4 separate regions of the Homo sapiens genome follow, and all the other regions are linked to region 4. The links are contacts of gene promoters, found by promoter capture Hi-C in blood cells and fetal thymus (Javierre and others, 2016). All regions are on one chromosome and are shown on one strand. Each heading gives the region's core, a stretch centred on a gene start or on the middle of the fragment in contact. The rest is flanking DNA. Distances are from core to core; before and after follow the strand shown. Region 1 has its middle 33 kb from the start of GTF2H5. Region 2 has its middle 58 kb from the start of GTF2H5. Region 3 has its middle 6.9 kb from the start of SOD2. Region 4 holds the start of RSPH3 (radial spoke head 3).

Evidence for each region. Contacts are between HindIII fragments. The CHiCAGO score rates a contact against its expected background, and 5 or more counts as called.
Region 1: a fragment that was not itself captured here is called in contact with the fragment with the promoter of RSPH3 in region 4 in 2 of 17 cell types (naive CD8 T cells and total B cells); the score reaches 8.4 in naive CD8 T cells.
Region 2: a fragment that was not itself captured here is called in contact with the fragment with the promoter of RSPH3 in region 4 in 2 of 17 cell types (fetal thymus and naive CD8 T cells); the score reaches 5.9 in fetal thymus.
Region 3: a contact is called between a fragment that was not itself captured here and the fragment with the promoter of RSPH3 in region 4, in 1 of 17 cell types (M0 macrophages). The highest score is 5.1, in M0 macrophages.

The regions. Positions count from the first base shown.
Region 1 is chr6:158,199,985-158,202,684 of GRCh38, reverse strand. No RefSeq gene overlaps it. Among named protein-coding and RNA genes, the nearest start is that of GTF2H5, 33 kb to the right of the region's middle. The HindIII fragment of the contact is 7,369 bases long and covers 1-2,700 here.
Region 2 is chr6:158,224,741-158,227,440 of GRCh38, reverse strand. No RefSeq gene overlaps it. Among named protein-coding and RNA genes, the nearest start is that of GTF2H5, 58 kb to the right of the region's middle. The HindIII fragment of the contact is 2,829 bases long and covers 1-2,700 here.
Region 3 is chr6:159,698,820-159,701,519 of GRCh38, reverse strand. It overlaps a transcript of SOD2 not described here. Among named protein-coding and RNA genes, the nearest start is that of SOD2, 6.9 kb to the right of the region's middle. The HindIII fragment of the contact is 1,628 bases long and covers 637-2,264 here.
Region 4 is chr6:158,998,811-159,001,510 of GRCh38, reverse strand. RSPH3 (radial spoke head 3) reads left to right here and starts at 1,309. Exons shown (of 8, transcript NM_031924.8): 1 at 1,309-2,076. The coding sequence starts at 1,961. TAGAP-AS1 (TAGAP antisense RNA 1) reads right to left here and starts at 1,638. Exons shown (of 5, transcript NR_183546.1): 1 at 1,119-1,638. RefSeq lists enhancers at 1,001-1,050, 623-1,594, 1,461-1,620, 1,791-1,860, 1,891-1,940 and 2 more. The HindIII fragment of the contact is 7,152 bases long and covers 36-2,700 here.

The sequences.
Region 1 (2,700 bases), core at 71-2,570, 800 kb after region 4:
AGTAACTGGGATTACAAGCATGCACCACAACGCCTGGCTAATTTTTTGTATTTTTAGTAGAGATGGGGTTTCGCCATGTTGCCCAGGCTGGTCTTGAGCTCCTGAGCTCGGGTGATCCCCTGCCTTGGCCTCCCAAAATGCTGGGATTACAGGGTTGAGCCACTGCGTCCGGCCTAAACATTTTTCTTTAACTTCTATTTCTCTATGACACCATCACTTTGGGTGTTTGAGCTTAGCTACTCAAAATGTGACCTGCCAGACAGCAGCACTGCCATCCCCTGGAAGCCTTCTAGAAATGCAGAATCTCAGGCCCCAGCCCACACCCACTTAATCGGAATCTGCATTCTAAGGACTTCCAGATGATTTGTAAGTACTTTAAAGTTGAAAAGCACTGATATAGACTAAGAAGCCCTCAAAGGCATATCTGCCTCAGTCAAGACCATAACAACTTTATGCTGGAAAATTTTCAGAGTGGCTTTTGGACCAATTGCCCAGTATAGTCATAGTTAGAGGTTTAAACACTCATAGAACATTTACTTTTAGACATGGTAGCTTCTACTACCATATCCAAAGTGCAATAGTTACAAATTACAGCTGCAAATAGCACCTGATTTAATGTGTTTTTTTTTGTTTGTTTTTTTCTCTGTTGCCCAGGCTGGAGTGCAGTGGCACGATCTCGGCTCACTGCAACCTCCGCCTCCCGGGTTCAAGCAATTCTCCTGCCTCAGCCTCCTGAGTAGCTGGGATTACAGGTGCCCGCTACCACGCCCAGCTAATTTTTTTGTATTTTTAGTAGAGACGGGGTTTCACCATGTTGGTCAGGCTGGTCTCGAACCCCTGACCTCGTGATCCACCCGCCTTGGCCCCCCGAAGTGCTGGGATTATAGGCATGAGCCACCGCGCCCGGCAGATTTAATGTGTTTGATAAAACTGACATAAGACTAACCCTTCCATTCCATGTCCACAGAAGTTCAAAACCTTCCAAGATTTCTGTGAATTCTTCATGTCACTAAATTAGTTGTGTTTGTTTATCTCTCACGGACCTGCCTCTGCTCTCCCTGTTTTTGTGTGTCAAACTCAACTTCTGTCCTTAATTTAATAAAATATAAGTCACACATCCAAATACCTTATGTAAGTGCAGATGTTACTGAGGGCTTGAGGGAGCCGGAGGAGTGATGAGAGCTAGGTAAACCAGTTAATACTGAATTAGACATCTACCTCCGAAAGACTCTGCCTGAGAAAGGATATGCTGACATAGCTTAAGAGTTTGTTTCACACACACACACACACACACACACACACACACACACACACACACAAAAGCATGGTAAACAGTAAATAAACACAAGACTAAAATATCTTAGTGAATTTATGTTTAAAAAAAAAAAACTTAACCAATTATGAGTGCTGCAATGACTTTCCTCCGTCTAACCAAAGGATCCAACTCAAGCTAGCTACTGTCAATAAATAAGATCCTGCAACGACTTGGGGAATCAGTTATCTAATTAGTGAATTTTAACAAAAGCTGGTTCCTTGCTGGGCAGACTCAGCATTTCCTTGGCAGTAAAAGGAAACAGCTGTGCTGGTAGATTAGCCTACTGGAAACCGAACGAAACCCAAAAACAAAACCTCCTACCCAGAGTCTCCATTGTGCACACACCGGCCCAGGAGTTCTCAGCTCTGAATGCACAGCAGAAGCACCAGGCAGGCCTTTTAAAGATGCTGACGCTTGGGTCATATCCCAGAACAACTAAATTTGAATGACTGGGGGCTGAGGCCAGGCATCAACATTTTTAGAAAGCTCCCCATCTAAAATCAGAAAAAAAAACTTTCCTCTGAAATAGAAATCCTGCTTCAGGTTTTTCATAAAGGAGCATGAAAAATTAAGGGAAAAGGCAAGTGTCAAAGCAGTGTGATCTCATTGGGATAGGGAGTAGAACTCTTTTTTTTTTTTTTTTTTTTTGAGACAGTCTTGCTCTGTTGCCCGGGTTGGAGTGCAGTGGCGTGATCTCTGCATACTGCAAGCTCTGCCTCCCGGGTTCATGCCATTCTCCTATCTCAGCCTCCCAAGTAGCTGAGACTACAGGTGCCCGCCACCACGCCCGGCTAGTTTTTTGTATTTTTAGTAGAGACGGGGTTTCGCCGTGTCAGCCAAGATGGTCTCGATCTCCTGACCTCGTGATCTGCCTGCCTTGGCCTCCCAAAGTGCTGGGATTACAGGCGTGAGCCACCACGCCCAGCCAAAACTCTTTTTATATTCTTTAAAAAAGTGAAGATTGTCATTAGCTTTTAAAATTTTTTTTGAGGCTGGGCGTGGTGCCTCACGCCTGTAATCCCAGCACTTTGGGAGGCCAAGGCGGGTGGATCATGAGGTAAGGAGATCGAGACCATCCTGGCTAACACGGTGAAACCCCGTCTCTACTAAAAATACAAAAAACTAGCCGGGTGTGGTGGTGGGTGCCTGTAGTCCCAGCTACTTGGGAGGCTGAGGCAGGAGAATGGCGTGAACCCGGGAGGCGGAGCTTGCAGTGAGCCAAGATCGTGCCACTGCACTCCAGCCTGGGAGACAGCAAGACTCCGTCTAAAAAAAAAATGTTTTTTGACACAGGGTCTCACTTTGTTGCCCAGGCTGAAGTGCAGTGGTGCAATCACGGCTCACTACAGCCTTGACCTCGTGCTCAAGCGATCTTCCTGCCTCAG
Region 2 (2,700 bases), core at 93-2,592, 770 kb after region 4:
CTTTGCTTTGCATCTGCCTTGGGTCACACAGTGAGCTCAGAGCCCAACTGAATCTGATAGGCATTCTGGTAACAGTGTATCTTGACCACTTATTAAAACGTGGCTGTGCTCCTGGCGGTGGTTAATCACCACTGTCCTACCCTAAGGCTGGGCCTGGGGGCACAAGGGATCCATAGTCACAGCCAGCCAGGCACCTGGGTTGGCCTCTGTTCCCTTCCCTTCTCTCCACACTTCTTTGCACCCCTCCTTGGCCATCATGTTCCTCTAAGACATCCAGACAATGAAGCTCCAGCAGCTCTTCTTGCAGGCCTCTTCCCTGCCTCCCTGTCACCAAGCAGCCTGCTGGGCAACTCCCCTCCTTCTTGGCTGCGACATAACTCAGAGTCCAAAGTTTCTGCTGTCTCAAGCCCTTCAGCCACCAAGACACTCAGCACAGGGATAGGGAAACTGGATCCTGGACATAAGGAGATGGCGGAGGAGTCAGAGCTTTTGAAGAATAAGATGCAAGCCCCTCCCCTTTCGAGGTGTCCTGAGAGCCAAAAATGCCAGCACCAGCTGAGGCTTCATCACTGGAAACCCAGCGTCCGGCACCAGGTGAAACGCTGTAGCCCCGCTGTGCTCCGCTCAGCCATGCCACCTGCAGACTGTCCTGCAGTTCTGGAGGCCACCACAGCCACACGTGAAGAAACAGTGATGAGTTGCAGCACATCCTTTGAGGGTGGCCAGGATGGTGAGGACTCCAGAAGCTGTCTTACAATGTCATACAGTTTTATAAACACCTGAAGAAGAAAATAAGAATGTTTAACCTGGGAAGAAACACACTTACAAGCCTCTGCTGGTGAACTTTGTCCCATTGAGAGCAATTGTATGGGAGGGTTGTTCCTTTTTTTTTTGTTTTTTGTTTTTTGTTTTTGAGACGGAGTCTTGCTCTGTCGCCAGGCTGGAGTTCAGTGGCGCGATCTCGGCTCACTGCAACCTCCGCCTCCCGGGTTCTAGTGATTCTCCTGCCTCAGCTTCCCAAGTAGCTGGGACTACAGGTGCATACCACCATGCCCAGCCAATTTTTGTATTTTTAGTAGAGACGGGGTTTCACCATGTTGGCCAGATGGTCTGGATCTCTTGACCTCGTGATCCACCCGCCTCGGACCCCCAAAATGCTGGGATTACAGGTGTGAGCCATCATGCCCGGCCCGGTTGTTCCCTTTTGATTATTTATTGAGCTTCTACTTTAAACCAGGCAGTGTCCAAATGAGAACAAGTGTGTGGGAACCTATGAAGGGGCTTTGGATCAGAAAAGGAAGGGCCTCTGCTAGGGCAGTCGCCAGGGAGGTGTGTGGCCTTGCAAAGTAGCCTTAGCCCACCCACTTCTATCTTTTGACTCTGATGGCCTGGCCTGGACACACAGAATGCAACCCGGGGTCCTACTCACCCTCTGCCTTAAAGGCTCGAGGCTCTAATCAGCTAACTCGTCCCCTTCCCAGCCTGCTCAGAGCCTCCCAGAGCAAAGTAATACCTGGACCAAGATCTAGAACCAAAAGGCCTGCTTGGTTCACTCTGGAAAGGAGAAGATGGCTTACAAGAAAAGAGAGCTTTTGTCCTTGTCTGCTTCCCCCATTCGGGAGAAGGGAAGAGGTGAGCGGGCTGCGGTACTTTGTACACACTTGAAGCGCCACTCTCCTTCCTCCCGATCCTTTCATTGCTGAGGTGGTCCTTTAGGGCCCTGAATTCTGAGCAGACTCTCAGTAGATGCACATCGTTGGGTACACATTTTCTTTTTTTTTTTTTTTTTTGAGACAAGGTCTTGCTCTATTGTCCTGGCTGGAGTGCAGTGTCGTGATTACAGCTCGCTGCAGCCTCAACCTCTCCAGGCTCAGATGATCCTCCTGCTGCAGCCTCCTGAGTAGTGGGACCACAGGTGCATGCCACCACACCTGGCTAATTTTTTTATTTTTTGTAAAGATGGGGGTCTCACCATCCTGGCTAACAGTAGTGAAACCCCGTCTCTACTAAAAATACAAAAAAATTAGCTGGGCATGGTGGCAGGTGCCTGTGGTCCCAGCTACACGGGAGGCTGAGACAGGAGAATGGCGTGAACCTAGGAGGCGGAGCTTGCAGTGAGCCGAGATTGCGCCACTGCACTCCAGCCTGGGCGACAGAGCAAGACTCTGTCTCAAAAAAAAAAAAAAAAAGGGGGGGGTCTCACTATGTTGCCCAGGTTGGTCTCAAACTCCTGGGCTCAAGCAATCCACCCACCTCGGCCTCCCAGAGTATTGGAATTACAGGTGGGAGCTGCTGCACCTCGCCCACACTTTCTTTAAGCAGGATGGTGGACAGTTCAAAAGGCATTGACTTGGGGCCAGAAGCAGTGGCTCACATCTGTAATCCCAGCACTTTGGGAGACCAAGGTTGGTGGATCACCTGAGGTCAGGAGTTTGAGACCAGACTGGCCAACATAGTGAAACCTCGTCTTTACTAAAAATATAAAAATTAGCTGGGTGTGGTGACGCACGCCTGTAATCCCAGCTACTCAGGAGGCTGAGGCAGGAGAATCACTTCAACCCGGGAGGCGGAGGTTGCAGTGAGCTAAGATAGTGCTACTGCACTCCAGCCTGGGGATAGAGCAAGACTCCGTCTCAAAACAAACAAACAGCAACAACAATAAAAAGGCACTGACTTGGTCTTAGGTAAGCAGCTGTTAAG
Region 3 (2,700 bases), core at 201-2,700, 700 kb before region 4:
GGCTCACTGCAACCTCGAACTCCTGGGCTCAGGTGATCCTCGGGCCTCAGCCTCCCAAGTAGCTGGGACTATAGGCATGTGCTATCACGCCCAGCTTGGTCCCGTGACCTTTTAAAAAATATATGTTCTTTAGTAATAAAAAGTCTTATAATCACTTTAAGTTAGAACACAGGCTCAATTCACTATCCAAAATGCTCCCATGTGAGAAGCAAAACTCTGAAAGTGATTTAAAGTCAAAACTTCATCACAGGCCTCTAGCAGGCCAGCAGCCTACAGAGGGAGAAAGATGTTGGCAGCTGGCAGGTGCCTTCTCTAGCGTCTTGCCTTCTGCTGCTGCTGCTCATCTTTGAGCATGCTAACCATGGTTTCTCAAATCTCCAGGGATTGGCCTGGAGAGGAAGCAGGTGTGGGGTTATATTTATATTGCTCACAGTGGTGGCATGTGGGTGGAATACAGGGAAATCTTACATATTGTCTTGCCTGACAGTTGCTTTAAGTGGACTCCTTCTCATGGTTTTGGAGACCACCCCATCACTGAGAATTTGTGTCTCCTAGAGTTCAGTCTAAAAGCCGAGATCCTACATTGTGTTCCAGGGAAGCTTAAGAAAATTAGGTCTCTGCTTGATTTGGAAAGCTTAGACTGAACCTAAATGAAAATCAGGTCAGTAAAAAGTCAGAGTTTAACAAAGATAGATGTTATGTCCCAGAGACCAGACATTTAAGCATTACTTTCAAAGTGCACTCAGAGAGATATTTGTTCTTCATTTAGTACTTAGAGACTAAGTCTTATCCATGCCATCAAAAAAATGGGAGTTGGAAAACATGCCACACATGTTAACAATGCATTGATTTTTTTTTTTTTTTTTTGAGACAGAGTCTCGCACGTCACCAAGACTGGAGTGCAGTGACGCAATCTTGGCTTACTGCAAGCTCTGCCTCCTGGGTTCATGCCATTCTCCTGCCTCAGCCTCCCGAGTAGCTGGGACTACAGGCGCCTGCCACCACACCCAGCTAATTTTTTGTATTTTTAGTGGAGATGGGGTTTTGCTGTGTCAGCCAGGATGGTCTCGATCGCCTGACCTTGTGATCCACCCACCTCGGCCTCCCAAAGTGCTCGGATTACAGGCGTGAGCCACCGCGCCTGGCCAACAATGCATTTTAACTTAAACCATGTAAATGAATTCAGATGAAGAACCAGAAAATTACTGGAGCTACTGCATCACCACACTAGTAATGTGTTGTCTCTAATTTCCATTAATTCTCTAAAGTGGAGTGGCATTTAAAGACACCTGGAAACCAATCTGATCCCTTAAATGTTTAATAATTGTCCCACTCTTAAATATGTTTTGTCCACATCTAACTGAACAGTGATCATTTTTAGTGGCTCACCTCTAGTGTACCAACATATAGCTGACTAGTTCCTCAAACTAAATATCTTTAGCATGAAAATGAAGTTTTATTTTATGCGATTTTATCTAATTTCTCACCAGAGGGTAAATGCAGATGTAAGCTGGCACGAGAGGAGGGTGATGCAGGCCAAGATGGATTGAGTCCTGGGAGTTGCCTGAGATGGGACATAGGTTCCCAGAAATACTGTGATATCAATACTGTTCTCAGTGGACCACAATCTGGCATGGACCTGGGTGGTATGCGAGGCCACTCCTCCTGTGTACCTATTTTGGCTGCTCCGAGTAGATGTACAGTGTGGAGTGCAGCCCCTGGGTTGTGCTGGCCCAGAGATTCAGCCAGCCAAGATCCTTATGCTTGCTCACAGCCCTCAGTGGTCTGGGCTACTCTTTAGTAGCTTGAGTAGCCCTTGAGAGTCATTCTTGGAACTGTGCACCTGAAATCAATCTTACTCCATGACAAATCCTGGGATATGAACTAGAAGTTGGCAGTTTAATAATGACAGATCCCACCCTTACATAGAATGCAGTGACCATGTTTGTTTTTTTTTTTCTCGTGGAGTAGTAATGGGGAAGAGGTGGTGTCCATTTCCATAAAGGAGGCAGGATGTTGCAGGAAGTCCTCATGAAAGGATCTTATGGAGGGCTCTGCCGGACTCTCAATATGGGACAACCCTTCTCTTTTGGCCTCCTGGGTCCCCAGCAAGTCTGAGTCTTTCACTAGACTAGGTTGGGAAGAATGAGCTGGGCCATTGTGAAGGGAAACTCCAGGAAGCTGGGTCTTCACTGAGGCTACAAAGCAAATGCCATCTAAGGGGCAGATGGACCAAGGTCAGGGCATAGAAGCAATGTCAAGCTTTAGGTCCAAGAGTGATGACCAGAGTCGTGTAAGAGATGGGACAGCAGGCCAATCAGGATTTGAGGAGATAGGGATAAGTTGGGAAGTTGTGTAGGGACAGAAGGAGGAAGAAAGTTTCAAATCTTGGGCTCCAATTAGATAAGGCTGGGCCCAATTCTTTTGGGTGTGAAAAATGTGGGAGAGGGAGTGGCAGCTGTTTAAAGGCACGGAGCTACACAGGTTTAACAGCAATACACTTGACCCTTGAACAACATGGGTTTGAACTGCATGGGTCCACTTCTATGTAGATTTTCTTCTGCCTCCACCCCCGCCCCCCACCCCCCAGACAGCAAGATCAACCTCTCTTCCTCAGCCTACTCACCATAAAGATGAGGAGGATGAAGACCTTTATGATGATCCACTTCTGCTTAATGAATAGTAAATATAATTTCTCTT
Region 4 (2,700 bases), core at 60-2,559:
ATCCAAATATGGTGGTCTTATATAGATCCTAAGCTTAAATCAATATGATGTAATTCTGGTCAGTTGGGAGTTTACGAGGGGGTTTTGCTCTTCCAATAAAGACAAAAGAGCAGATACTTCTATTACTACTTTGTTGAAGCCAACAACCCAGGTGACAGAGTGGAAAGGTAGGGGAAAAAACGTGTTGTTGATAATGTGCTGAGCCCCCAAGTTACCCTCCAGGTTAACCAACCTGGGGAGTGTAAAATAATGAATTCCTTATTATTTCAGCCACTTGGAATTGGTTTTTTGTTACTTGAGGGAAAAAATATTCTAATTAATATGCTAGTGTTTACTGTTTCCACGATGTGGTGTCAGCCTGTCTATATATATTTCTACAACTCATCTACACAAACCTTGCTTACAGTTTTCCAAATGCACCTTGGGCTTCTTGAGCCTTTGATCAAGCCATTCCGAATGCACTTCCCCCAAGAGGCTGGCCAGTTAAAATACTATCATTTATCAAACACAACTTAAATGTCACTTTCTCCTCTAGCCCTTTCAGAAATTACCTCAAAATTAAATGATCAGACCTAAAATATGTTGGGAGTGTTTTCACCTCTAGAATTTACCATACACCTTTATGCTAGTGTTACTTATAGAATGCCTACATCTGCTTTAGGTCATACACTTCAAAGCACAGAACGGTCCAGATCTTAATATAAAGGCTTGCCATTTACCAGGCACAGCTCTAAGTATTAACGGTTTTAATCCTCAAGACAAAACCTAAAGAGATAAATTCTTCTATTGCCACTTTGTGGATTAGGAAAATGAAGCACAAAAACATTTAACTTGCCTGAGGTTTCGGAGCTAGTACATTCTAGAACCTGGATTCAAATCAAGACAGCAATTAGCTGAATGAAGGTGTAACTGCAAATGCAAATAACTGATCACAAGGGATACACATTCACTCATACAAGATAGAAGATTTTTAACGTTGCTGGTACTAAAACCAAAGCGTCTGCGTTTTTAAGCGCAGCCCCACCCCGCAATACTAGAGACATTCTTTAGAGCTGGAAGCCTGATAGATTAAGGGGAACTATGCCTTTGTATTTTTTAAGACTCAATAAATTGCTCACTTCTTTCCCAAAATGAGGTGTCTGTGGGGGAGGCCCCTGTCGCTCCGTGTGCCAAGGGTCCTCCGATTGCTAGCACACAGCGGTGAGCAGAGAAGGTAGGTGAGGAACTGCACTGACTCAGCTGCAGAGGGCGGCGGCAGCCCGCCCCTGGGGCGGGAGAAGGGCAGGAGCCGGGAGACACCAGGAAGCTCTTCCCCGCCCGGGCACGTAACAGAGCTGGGAGCCTGGCTGCCAGGGGCGTGTTATCGCGGGGGCAGCCTGGGAGCGCTGCTGCGCCGCGGCAGGAGAAACAGCCGAGGACACCCTGGAAGAGCAGGAGCACGTGGGCCTGCGAGAATGGCGCCAACACCAGCCCTGCAAAGCCACATTCCAAAGCCGGGCCAAGGACAGCCACCGTTGCCCCGCAGGCCTCAAGGATGACGGTCAAGCCAGCCAAGGCCGCCTCCCTAGCCAGGAACCTCGCAAAGCGCAGGCGCACCTACCTGGGTGGCGCGGCTGGGCGGAGTCAAGAGCCGGAAGTCCCTTGTGCCGCAGTCCTTCCCGGGAAACCTGGGGACCGGAACTGCCCGGAGTTCCCGCCCCCAGACAGAACCCTGGGTTGCTGGGCAACCGATGCGGCCCCCGCAGCTGGTCTCTGTGGTGCTGGGAGCGAGCCCAGTATAGCTCCCACCTCCTGCGCTGGTAACCTCCCGTCCCGCCCGCCTCCCTTGTTGTCGCCTCTCCTCGCGTCGCGGAATCCTTGCCCTTGGCACTACTTACATCTCTCCGGGTCCCACAACACCTTAGCGCCCACCTGCTTCAAAGCCAAGCTCCACCGAAAGCGAGGCAGTCAGCCCCCGGACATGGCCTCAGCGCTGACTGATCGCACCTCTCGGGCCCCGAGCACCTACACCTACACCAGCCGGCCCCGAGCACTGCCCTGCCAGCGCAGCCGTTACCGGGACAGCCTGACGCAGCCGTGAGTGACCAAGCCAGCCCCTGTGTGGTCCATACTTGCACCCCATCCCCAGGCCGGGGTCTGGCCCCTTCGCCCTGGCAAAAAAGCTGCTTATGCTGTCTTCCCTTGGCTGCACTCTGCCGAAATAAAAGTTCTGCCCTAAGGAATCTCCCGTGGTGTGGAGGAGTGAAGCAGGAAGGGGCATGGGTTGGGCATCAGTTAACTTTTAGTGATATGAGTTGCTGCCGTGGTCCTTAACATGTACACGAATTGGCTCATTTCACAAAGTTTGAATTGTACCAGTGTGTATTGAGGGCCAACTACGTGCTGAGCACCTTACGGGGGGCATTCAAATACGTTTTCTTAGTTAATCCACAGTGCTGTGAAGTTGATTTTATAACTCCATTATGCAGATGAGGAGACCGCGGTGCAAAGATATCCAACAGTAGCATATCCAAAATGGGAGCCGAGTAAATCTCTTCGGCAGGCTTTGAGCAGGAGTAAGATTATTCTTCCATGCAGGACCACAGATTGGTTTTTTGTGGTGGTGGTGGTGGTGGTGGTGGTGGTTGCTGTTGTTGTTTTGAGACGGAGTTTCGCTCTTGTCGCCCAGGCTGGACTGCAATGACGCGATCTCCGCTCACT